Regions from separate parts of the Homo sapiens genome. Here region 1 is linked to region 2. Evidence: promoter capture Hi-C in human tissues and cell types (Jung and others, 2019). All regions are on one chromosome and are shown on one strand. The core of a region is centred on a gene start or on the middle of the fragment in contact, and the rest is flanking DNA. Distances in the headings are between cores, read along the strand shown. Region 1 overlaps TRPC7 (transient receptor potential cation channel subfamily C member 7). Region 2 holds the start of SLC25A48 (solute carrier family 25 member 48).

Region 1 (4,400 bases), core at 1,557-4,056, 400 kb after region 2:
GGACAGCAGGGGCTTAAGATCTACTGACCCAATAAATTAGTGTCCTCATGGAAGGGTTTACAAATATTTGCATCATCAAAACTACATGTGATCATGAACGCCTGGCATTTTCCAGTGGTACCTTCCATGGTCCAGTAAGACAGAAGTCCAGAGCCCAGAGGGAGGTGTGGGGCTGTAATACACTCTCTGCATGTCGCGGCCCCTTTCCGTGGTGGGATAACTTGACATCACATGCCGTGGGCTTGCCTGCTCCTGCCCTCAGCTAGTGGGCATCCCTCACAGCCAACTGCAAGGCTTCCCATGCTACTGTCATTTCAACTAAAGCATTACATGCCTGTTAGGATATGGCAGATTGCCGGGGGGAGTGGTGCAGAGACCTGCAGCTTTTCCAGGCACCATCTGGTTTTCTCTTACACATGGGGAAACTGAGGCCCAGAAGGGCAGGAAGGACTAGTGGACAAGAGCTCATTATCCACACTGGTGATTAAGTATGTAAAATGCTTTAAAAATATATGTGTTGTTTGTCCATCCACAATGTGCTGTATTTTTCTGGAGGGCAGCAGCTGAGGCTTCATGGCCAGGCTCACCTCTTCCTCTCACCTCTTGCCTTTTTTCCTCGCTCAATCTATGCTCTTGCAGCGCTGAGCATACCACACTGCTTCACCCCTCCCTGCCTTGGTACATGTGCTCCCTACTGCATAGAGTACTCTTTTTTGGGGAGGGTATCATAGACTGAATTGTGTCCCCCTTAAATTCCTATGTAGAAGCCCTAACCCCCAGCAAGTTAGAAGGTGACTTGCTTCTATTTGGAGATGGAGCCTTTAAAAGGTGACTGAAGTTAAATGAGGTCACGAGGATGGGGCCCCGATCTTCTTGGACTGGTGGCAAGGCTGTGTGAGGACACAGCAAGAAGGTGGACATCTGCAAGCCAAGCAGAGAGGCTCAGAAGGAGCCAACCCTGCTGATGTTGATCTTGGACTTGTGGCCTCTAGAACTGTGAGGGAAGAAACTTCTAATGTTTAAGCCACACAGTCTGTGGTATTTTTTAGGAAAGCCCTAGCAAGTTAATACACAGGGATCTTTACTTTTTCTATATAAGAAGTATATAAACAATTGTTTCTTATAATTTAAGGACAGAGGTGCACCAGGAAATGTGAAAGTCCCATTTCAGATCTTCTCTCCTTTTATTCCCTTCCCCAGAGGACGCCCGGTCAAAAGCCCTGTAGCCTCCTTGGAGTTCTTCTCTATGTTTGCATTTGTACTGTTACATAGATTAGATTCCCCTATTTGTATTTTTCTATAACTTGCATTTTTTCACTTAATAATGTGTTAGGGATTTTCCCATGTCAGTACAAAACAGTCTTTCTCATGCTGGATGTACAGTATCCTACACCTTATTCTAAAGTGTGACTATATCACAGTTTATTTAAACATTCTCATATCAATGGACTATTTCCAGGTTTTTCCTTTAACGAACATCTACGTAAAATGATATTGGATCTATTCCCAGAATTGGAATTGTTGAGTCAATAGGTCAGTGCTTTTTATTTTAACTTTAGCTTATTTATTTAATCATGTAGAAGGTAAAGCAACAACATGATTTATAAAGGATAAAAAGTATAAAGAAAAAGGAATTCCACCCACCATGCCCCCTATTCCCACCTCTCAACAGGCACCCCGTGGTGTCTTTCTTGTGGACCTTTCAGAGGTTTGTTCTTTTCATTTGCTTATACAATCACAAATGAATCACATTCCCTTTTCTTTCTCTCTTACACAAGAGAGAGCCCACTATATACATTGTTCTGGAACTTGATTTTTACCTCCTACCACTGTAACTTGAAGGTCTTTCCCCATCAGCATATACAGAACATATTTATCCTTCTTAAAATAGAATTGCACAGCATCCCATTTTTCAGATGCATCGTAGTCTATTTAATTAGATTCCTATTAATGCTCAGTTTGTTTTTAATTTCTTGCTGTTCCAAACAAGCTGCAATCAATAGCTTATGGTTCATGCCTTTTAGATTTTGATAAATTGCTTCCTGATACATTCTCTCAACCCCTTTATCTGTCAGGCAAAATTGTTCTGTTTTTAAATGGCCTTCCAGCATCACCTCTGGAAGCTTCCCCCATAGTCAATCTCTGTCTCTGTCCCCACACCACTCCCCACAACCTGGTTGCACTGGCCCCAGGGCATTGGAATTTGTTGATTGCCCTGTATGATCTCCTCACTGGACTATGAGTTTCTCTAGGCAGGAACTGTGTCTTAGTCATCTTGGTATCACCAGTGCCTAGTGCGGATTTGGCATACAGTAGGTACTTAATAAATAACACGTGAGAGGCGAAAGGGGCCTGGGGGCTGAAAGTCATTCTGATTGATTGCCATGGGTCATCTGCACGAGGTCCTGAGAAGACAAGTGTAAAAGAGAGAAGACTCATGACCCCAGTTCTTTCTGCTCTCGCTGGGCCTCATGGTGGTACCAGCAATGCCATGGGGCAGACTGACTTTGACTGCTTCTATTTCTAGAAGCAATCCAGGAAGAATGCCTGTTCTTTGCTGTTCTGGCTGCACATTTAACAACACATGGGCTTCTAACATCATTCCCCTCATTGCTGAAAAAAGCAATGTAAATTAGATGAAGGAGAGCAAGCATTTTCAGTGACCTGGCCTTACCTCAATTTCCTGATAGGAGTTGTTTATCATGGCTATTAGCATGTTGAGCAACACTACCACCATGGTGACGTTATAAACGCCGTAGAGAACGTAGCCAATGTTCTCGATGAATTTGTGGTCGTATTTCAGCACCACTGAGATTACTTCAGATAAGCCGAATATGGACCAAAACAAAGTTTTAAAACTTTCTTCAACCCTGCAAAGAAACAGACGGTCCTTTTACGCAGTTTGCATCAGCTTGAACTTTTATTTATTCATTCATTTATCTTGAGACAGGGTCTCACTCTGTTGCCTAGGCTGGAGTGCAGTGGCTCAATCATGGCTCACTCTAGCCCTGACCTCCTGGACTCAAGCAATTCTCCTGCCTTAGCCTCCTGAGTAGGTGGGACTACAGCTGTGCACCACCGCACCTGGCTAATTGTTTCATTTTTTGTAGGGATAGGATCCCACTATGTCGCCCAGGCTGGTCTTGAACTCCTGGGCTCAAGGTATCATCCCATCTTAGCCTCCCACAGTGCTGGGATGACAGATGTAAGCCACTGCATCTGGCCAGCTTGAACTTTTAAAATGAAAGTTGCCATTGGTCATGCTTTACCCTGGAGTGCCCAGTTGTTACCCTGGAGTGGGGCTGGGCTGGTTGGTGATGCCTGCATTCTGAGATAATGTGATATTCAGATTTCTAAGAAGACTTTGAAAGAATATTAAAAATGGCAAGCTCTTTATTTTTTATTCAATCCATTTATTGGGACTCCTGGCTGTGGTATCACTTTTCTCTTACTGTAATTAACTTAAACATTTAAAATTAAACACCTGGGTAAATGTTTGTTCTTGTGCATTATGAGCCCCAGAAAGTGCATTCTTCCTTCCATTAAGCCCTAACCATTTCTTCTCAGACTCCACAGCCCACGTGAAGGGGAGTGATGGCAGACACCTGGAAAGTGGGCAGTGTCCACACAGGAGGATGGCATCCCTGGAGTCTGACACTTCTAGGCACTCGACAAAGAGCAGCTCACTTAAGCCTCATGACCAGCTCTGTGGCGGGCTCTCATATGACCTCCTGTTACAGAGCTGAGGCTAGCCACATGTATTAAGCTTTCTAAACTGGGGCTGAATTATCAAGAATGAGAGTGGGGATTTTGGTGTGCCCACATGGTTCAAAATCACCAGGTGATTGCCCAAACCTCACCCTACGGCTCACTTAGGTTAGATGCTGCATGTGCCTTGAAGGCAGTTCAGGTTAGTCTCAGCTTTAACGACACTGCTCTTTGGCCCTTTTGAGACTACGAAGTAACTGAAATACAGTAGTGTTATGAATAAGACCCAAGTGCATTTCGTAGTCCATACTCTATGGGCATGACACTGTATCAGGCTGATGACCTAGAATCGAATAAGAAAGCTGGATTTTGGTTGGGAGGTTTAGACCATGCATGTATATCTGGTAACATCTGAATGGTTAAGTGCAGTTCTTTTAGTTTTCATCCAGATTTTTGGTACCACTGTAAGAAAGCACTTTTTTTTTTCCTCTTTAACATTTCAGGTTTTCAACACTCACCCACAAATGGCCAGGATTAGCTAGATCTTTAAAAATATCAGCATTTCTCAAGGATTGGTATTTATTTGACAAGATGTACAAAAATACTGGTACTCGTCACTTGGGCTAAAAATCCAACTCTTGACTCGCATGAATTTACAGCTCTCCCGAGTGTGATTGTGTGGGGGTGTATGT
Region 2 (4,299 bases), core at 309-2,808:
AACCTAGGGTCCTCCCCTCACTTCCCTGGGTGATGCGCCCCATGGGCAGGTTTGTGGCATGCATATGGGAATGGAGCACAGTAATTCATTTTGGAAAGCAACCCACTCCTGCTCTGCTCCAGCTCGTTAGTAGTTCAAGCAGCAGCTTTCTGGGCCTGGGAGGCCATCCTGGGCTGCCAGGGACACTGCCTGCCAACGTAAGACCTCCTCAATTGGTGCTGACACAGGACTGAGGGGATGACAAACTGCCTGGCACCCCTTAGGTGGTCTTCCAGAGGAGTGGGTTTTGAGAATTGTCAGGCTTTCCACTTGTGGATGCATTCCAATGGTGAACTCAGTAAAAGGCCACTCTTCAGAGACCTGCATTTCTCATAGCAGCCCTAGGCATATATCCCGGGCATGACAGGGCACAGCTTGGGGTTGATGCTGATGGCAACTCTGAAGCCTCAAGACTGAGTGGGTCACCATAAGCAGCAGGAAGTTGAGGTGCCGGGATGGGGTGTGATGCTTCCACTCCTCCCTGGAACTTTGCAATACTTCCCTAGCCAGGCCGGCGACTCCATCCCGGGCTGTCCTCTCCCGATACAGGTCCACTCTCTGTGTGCCGGGGCAGGGGAGGGAGTGATGCTGCAGGAAGGTCCCTTCACCTCCAAGTCCCCACTCCTCAGTGGACAGGCCTTTGTAGGATCAAGCTTCGGTGGTCAGGCTCTGTCTTGCTTTGGAAGAAGGAGGTCTGGCTGGCTGTCGCTTCATATTAACCTGGATGACGTGACATGAATATGCCCAGTGGGACAAGAGCAGGCCCAGCAGAGGCCCCTTCCTCCTGACCATACCCTTCACCATTCTTGTCAACCTTGGGGTGTCTTGGCTGAGACCCACAGCTGAGTCCCTGCTGGAAACTAGCAGAACGCTGGGGGGCTTCGAGTCTTCTTAGGAAGGGAGGAAAGACACTCTCATTGTAATCAAAAGCCTCTCCGCACAGCAGGCCACTTCTCCAGTGAGCACGGACCCCTGGCCTGGGGCCTGGCTGAATGTAGGGTCTGCCTACAGAGAGGGAGTTTGAGGTACAGAGCACCACCTCTGCCTTCTGTTGGCCCAGGGCGGACAGTGTAGGGTGAGCCAGGGCCAGGCAGGGAGCTGGGCCCCTAGAGAGCTGTAGCTGAAAGTTAGACATGACCCTGAACCACCAGGTGCCTGCTCTAGGCACGGGGTACTGAGTGGGACATGGCTGAGATGAACAAAAAGGCATCACTGCCCAGAGTTGGGATGGGAGAGAGTCCACAGCTGATTGGAATCAGCATTGTCAGCACAGCACAGTACAGGGAGATACGCGCATTGCCGTCTCTGGATGGGCGGCTGGCACTTTCAGTTCAAAGGCGCTGAGGCTCTGAAGTTGGCAAGGAAGAGGATAACCCGGAGAAGGGAGGACTAAGAGAATTTCACTTGATGACCCTTGCCTCTTTGTGTCTGGGATGAGCCGCGCGGAGCGCACCCTTATCCACCCAGAGTGCTGTGCCTTTAAGGTCCACTGGGGGCGTGATGTCAGCCGCCCTCCGGCACTTGGAGAGGTGAGCGCGGCAGCCCGCGCAGCCGGTGACTGGGGGACTGGGTTTGGAGTAGGACCTGCGGCGTGCTCGAGACTCCGACTTCGGTCTTGCGGCGCGCTCGCGCCCGCGGGCCATGCCCCACTGACTCTAAGTGGGCACTGCCCCGGCTCCGGGAGGGCGAGACCGAGCGCCGGCCATGGGAAGCTTCCAGCTGGAAGACTTTGCGGCGGGCTGGATCGGAGGTGAGTGTGCTTACCGGGGACCCCCGGTCAGAGAGAGCGAGCCTGGCGGAGTTTGCCTCTATGCTCTGAGGAAACTTTGCCTCTGTGCGCTGCCATCCCGCTCCCCGTTGTGCGCGCAGCCTGCTTTGGGGAGTGCCCGGCCCCGAGATCCCCCTGGTGGTCTTGCAGTTGCCAGGGCTAAATTCTGAGAGCTTCACAGCGTTTCGGGCTGAGCTTCTGATTTGCTCATTAAGTTAGGATCCGTGGGACTTGATGAGGTAATGATTAAACAGCTCGTCAAAGCCCACAGCCAATGGAGGCTCCTGGCGGCGCACACACCCTTCAGTGACCTGGTGCACACCTGAATTGCGGACGTGGCTCGCGGGAACTTATGTATGAGGGTAGCGCTTGGCTGCTGATCCCGGGGCGCAGGGTGGTGGGAGCCAGGCTTCGAGATTAGGCCGGCCCAACGGGGCGTCCCGACTGGAGGGAGCAGAGCTCTCACAGCAGGGAGCGGAGCGCCGGCTGCAGGTGCCCATTGCCAGGCTGCGAGGAGCACTTATTGCCTTCAGCCGCCGCCAACCGTCAGCCATCGCCTACCTCCAAGGCCCCTTCTCCGGGCACTGTTGGGTCTGCTGATCCCTTCGCCACAGCTCCCGAAGCCACTCTTTTACTGGGCCTGGGATGGGTTGCCTGGGCGAGAGTTGCATTCATTTCCTTGCTTCTCCATTTTTCTTTCCAATTGGTCTATCCCTCTTTTCTCAGCTATTAGGAAAGGGGGAAGTTTGAGGGACTTTGCTAATTGTAAAAAAAAAAAAAAAAAAAAAAAAAAGTCTTTCTTTGGACCCATCTAAAAGGGTTATCCTAAAAGGGATGTTGGCAAATGTAGCCCCTCACCAAAGGGGTGAAAAAATAAGATGAAAAGAACAACAAACCAGATTGGATCCCAACTCCTCCCCTCCTACCTAGCAGGAGACCACCTCTCTCCCGAGACCGGTGGCTGCAGGGCCCTGCTTCACACCTTCCTGAGCAGAGGTGGCTCCTTTCACCTTGAGTAAGTCTGTTGGCACAGATGCCCTTGGGTGGGGCTGAGACCCGCCTCTCCTAACTTTCCCAGTTAGGGGGCTGCAGCCTGAGGCCCGCTGGGCATATCCAGGTCCTTTTTGACTGGACAATTATTCCACCATTCAGCGGGGCAGGCAGAGAGAGGAGACACTTCCGTGGGCTGCCCCTTAAATAAGCAGACCACCTTCGGTAGGGATGCAAATGGCTTGGTTTGAAAAATGCCCTGGAAGGTAGGGCTGAGTCAGAGTAGTTCCAAGACTCTGATACCCCTCCCCATCCCCAAACGTGATAACATGTGAACCCTCCCCGACTCACAGCAAGTAGGGGATTTTTGTGCTTTATTCTGGTCCTTACTTTGGTGATGTTATTGAAAGTAATGGCAAAAATCGCAATTACTTTTGCACCAAACTAATAACATGGCTTTTTTTTTTTTTGGCTTCCATGAAATGATGGTAAGTGTTTACTACACTTGAATACTTACTAGGTGCCAGGTATAGTTTAAGTGCTATATGTATTCTTTTAAAACAATTTTATCAAGGTTTATTTTATGTATTATAAAATTCACCCATTTCAAATGTACAATTCAATGTCTTTTAGTAATTTTACAAAGAGGTGCAACCATCACCATAAATTTGTTTTAGAACATTTTCATCCCCCAGTAAGATCCCTCATTTGAAGTTGAATGCTGTTCCCTCTCCTTAATCTCCTTTCTGTAAATTTGCCTTTCCTGTATATGTTATGTCAATTGAATCTTGCAATATGTGATCTCTTGTGTCAGTTTATGTATAGTTCTTTAATTATTATAACAACCCCAAAGAGGTAGGTACCGTTGCATCCTTATTTTACAGATGAGGAAACTGAGATACAGAGAAATTCACTGACTTGCCTAAGACCATGCATCTAGCATTGGCACCAGGATTCCAACCCAGGCTGCCTGGCACCAGAATCTGCCATCTTAATTTCATCTTAACTCTTTCTGAACAACCTTGCATAACAAAATTTTGCCCTTTTTTTGATATTATCCCCCCCCCCACCCCCCCCCCCCACACACACACACATTTTGTTTGAGATTTTACTGGTTTGTGAAGTGCCAAGGTCTGGAAATCACTGACCTTATAATCCCATTTTTTTAAATCTCAAATCCCCTGCTTTCAGATGGGTGGGCTAATAAGTGGCAGGGAGATGTTGGCCCAAGGCTGGATCTAAGCCTGCCCTGAGCTGAAGGATGTGTGCACTCACTATGGGGGAAGCCATGGAGCCTGAGGACCAGCGCACCTCCCCCCACTACTGGGAAGGGTTAATTACTGCCATCACCTCTCTGCCTCTGCCCAGTTTAGTAGGTAGGAGGGGATAAGAGGGGACAGGTGGTTCTGGACCCAGGGAATCATTGTTCTGGGATTAGCTGGTTTCTTTGTCCCTATAAATATCTAATATTCCAGGAGCCCTTAGCTACCTGGTTAAATCAC

Evidence for each region. Contacts are between HindIII fragments. The study calls those that stand out against the background at their distance.
Region 1: a fragment that was not itself captured here is called in contact with the fragment with the promoter of SLC25A48 in region 2 in 2 of the 25 tissues and cell types used here (IMR-90 fibroblasts and lymphoblastoid cells).

Annotation. Positions count from the first base shown.
Region 1 is chr5:136,228,680-136,233,079 of GRCh38, forward strand. TRPC7 (transient receptor potential cation channel subfamily C member 7) reads right to left here. Exons shown (of 12, transcript NM_020389.3): 8 at 2,675-2,870. The region is part of intron 1 of TRPC7-AS2 (TRPC7 antisense RNA 2); the gene reads left to right. Among named protein-coding and RNA genes, the nearest start is that of TRPC7-AS2, 4.2 kb to the left of the region's middle. The HindIII fragment of the contact is 4,556 bases long and covers 529-4,400 here.
Region 2 is chr5:135,833,105-135,837,403 of GRCh38, forward strand. It overlaps SLC25A48 (solute carrier family 25 member 48), which reads left to right and starts at 1,559. Exons shown (of 8, transcript NM_001349336.2): 1 at 1,559-1,789. The coding sequence starts at 1,744. RefSeq lists an enhancer at 524-1,025. The HindIII fragment of the contact is 4,672 bases long and covers 1-3,506 here.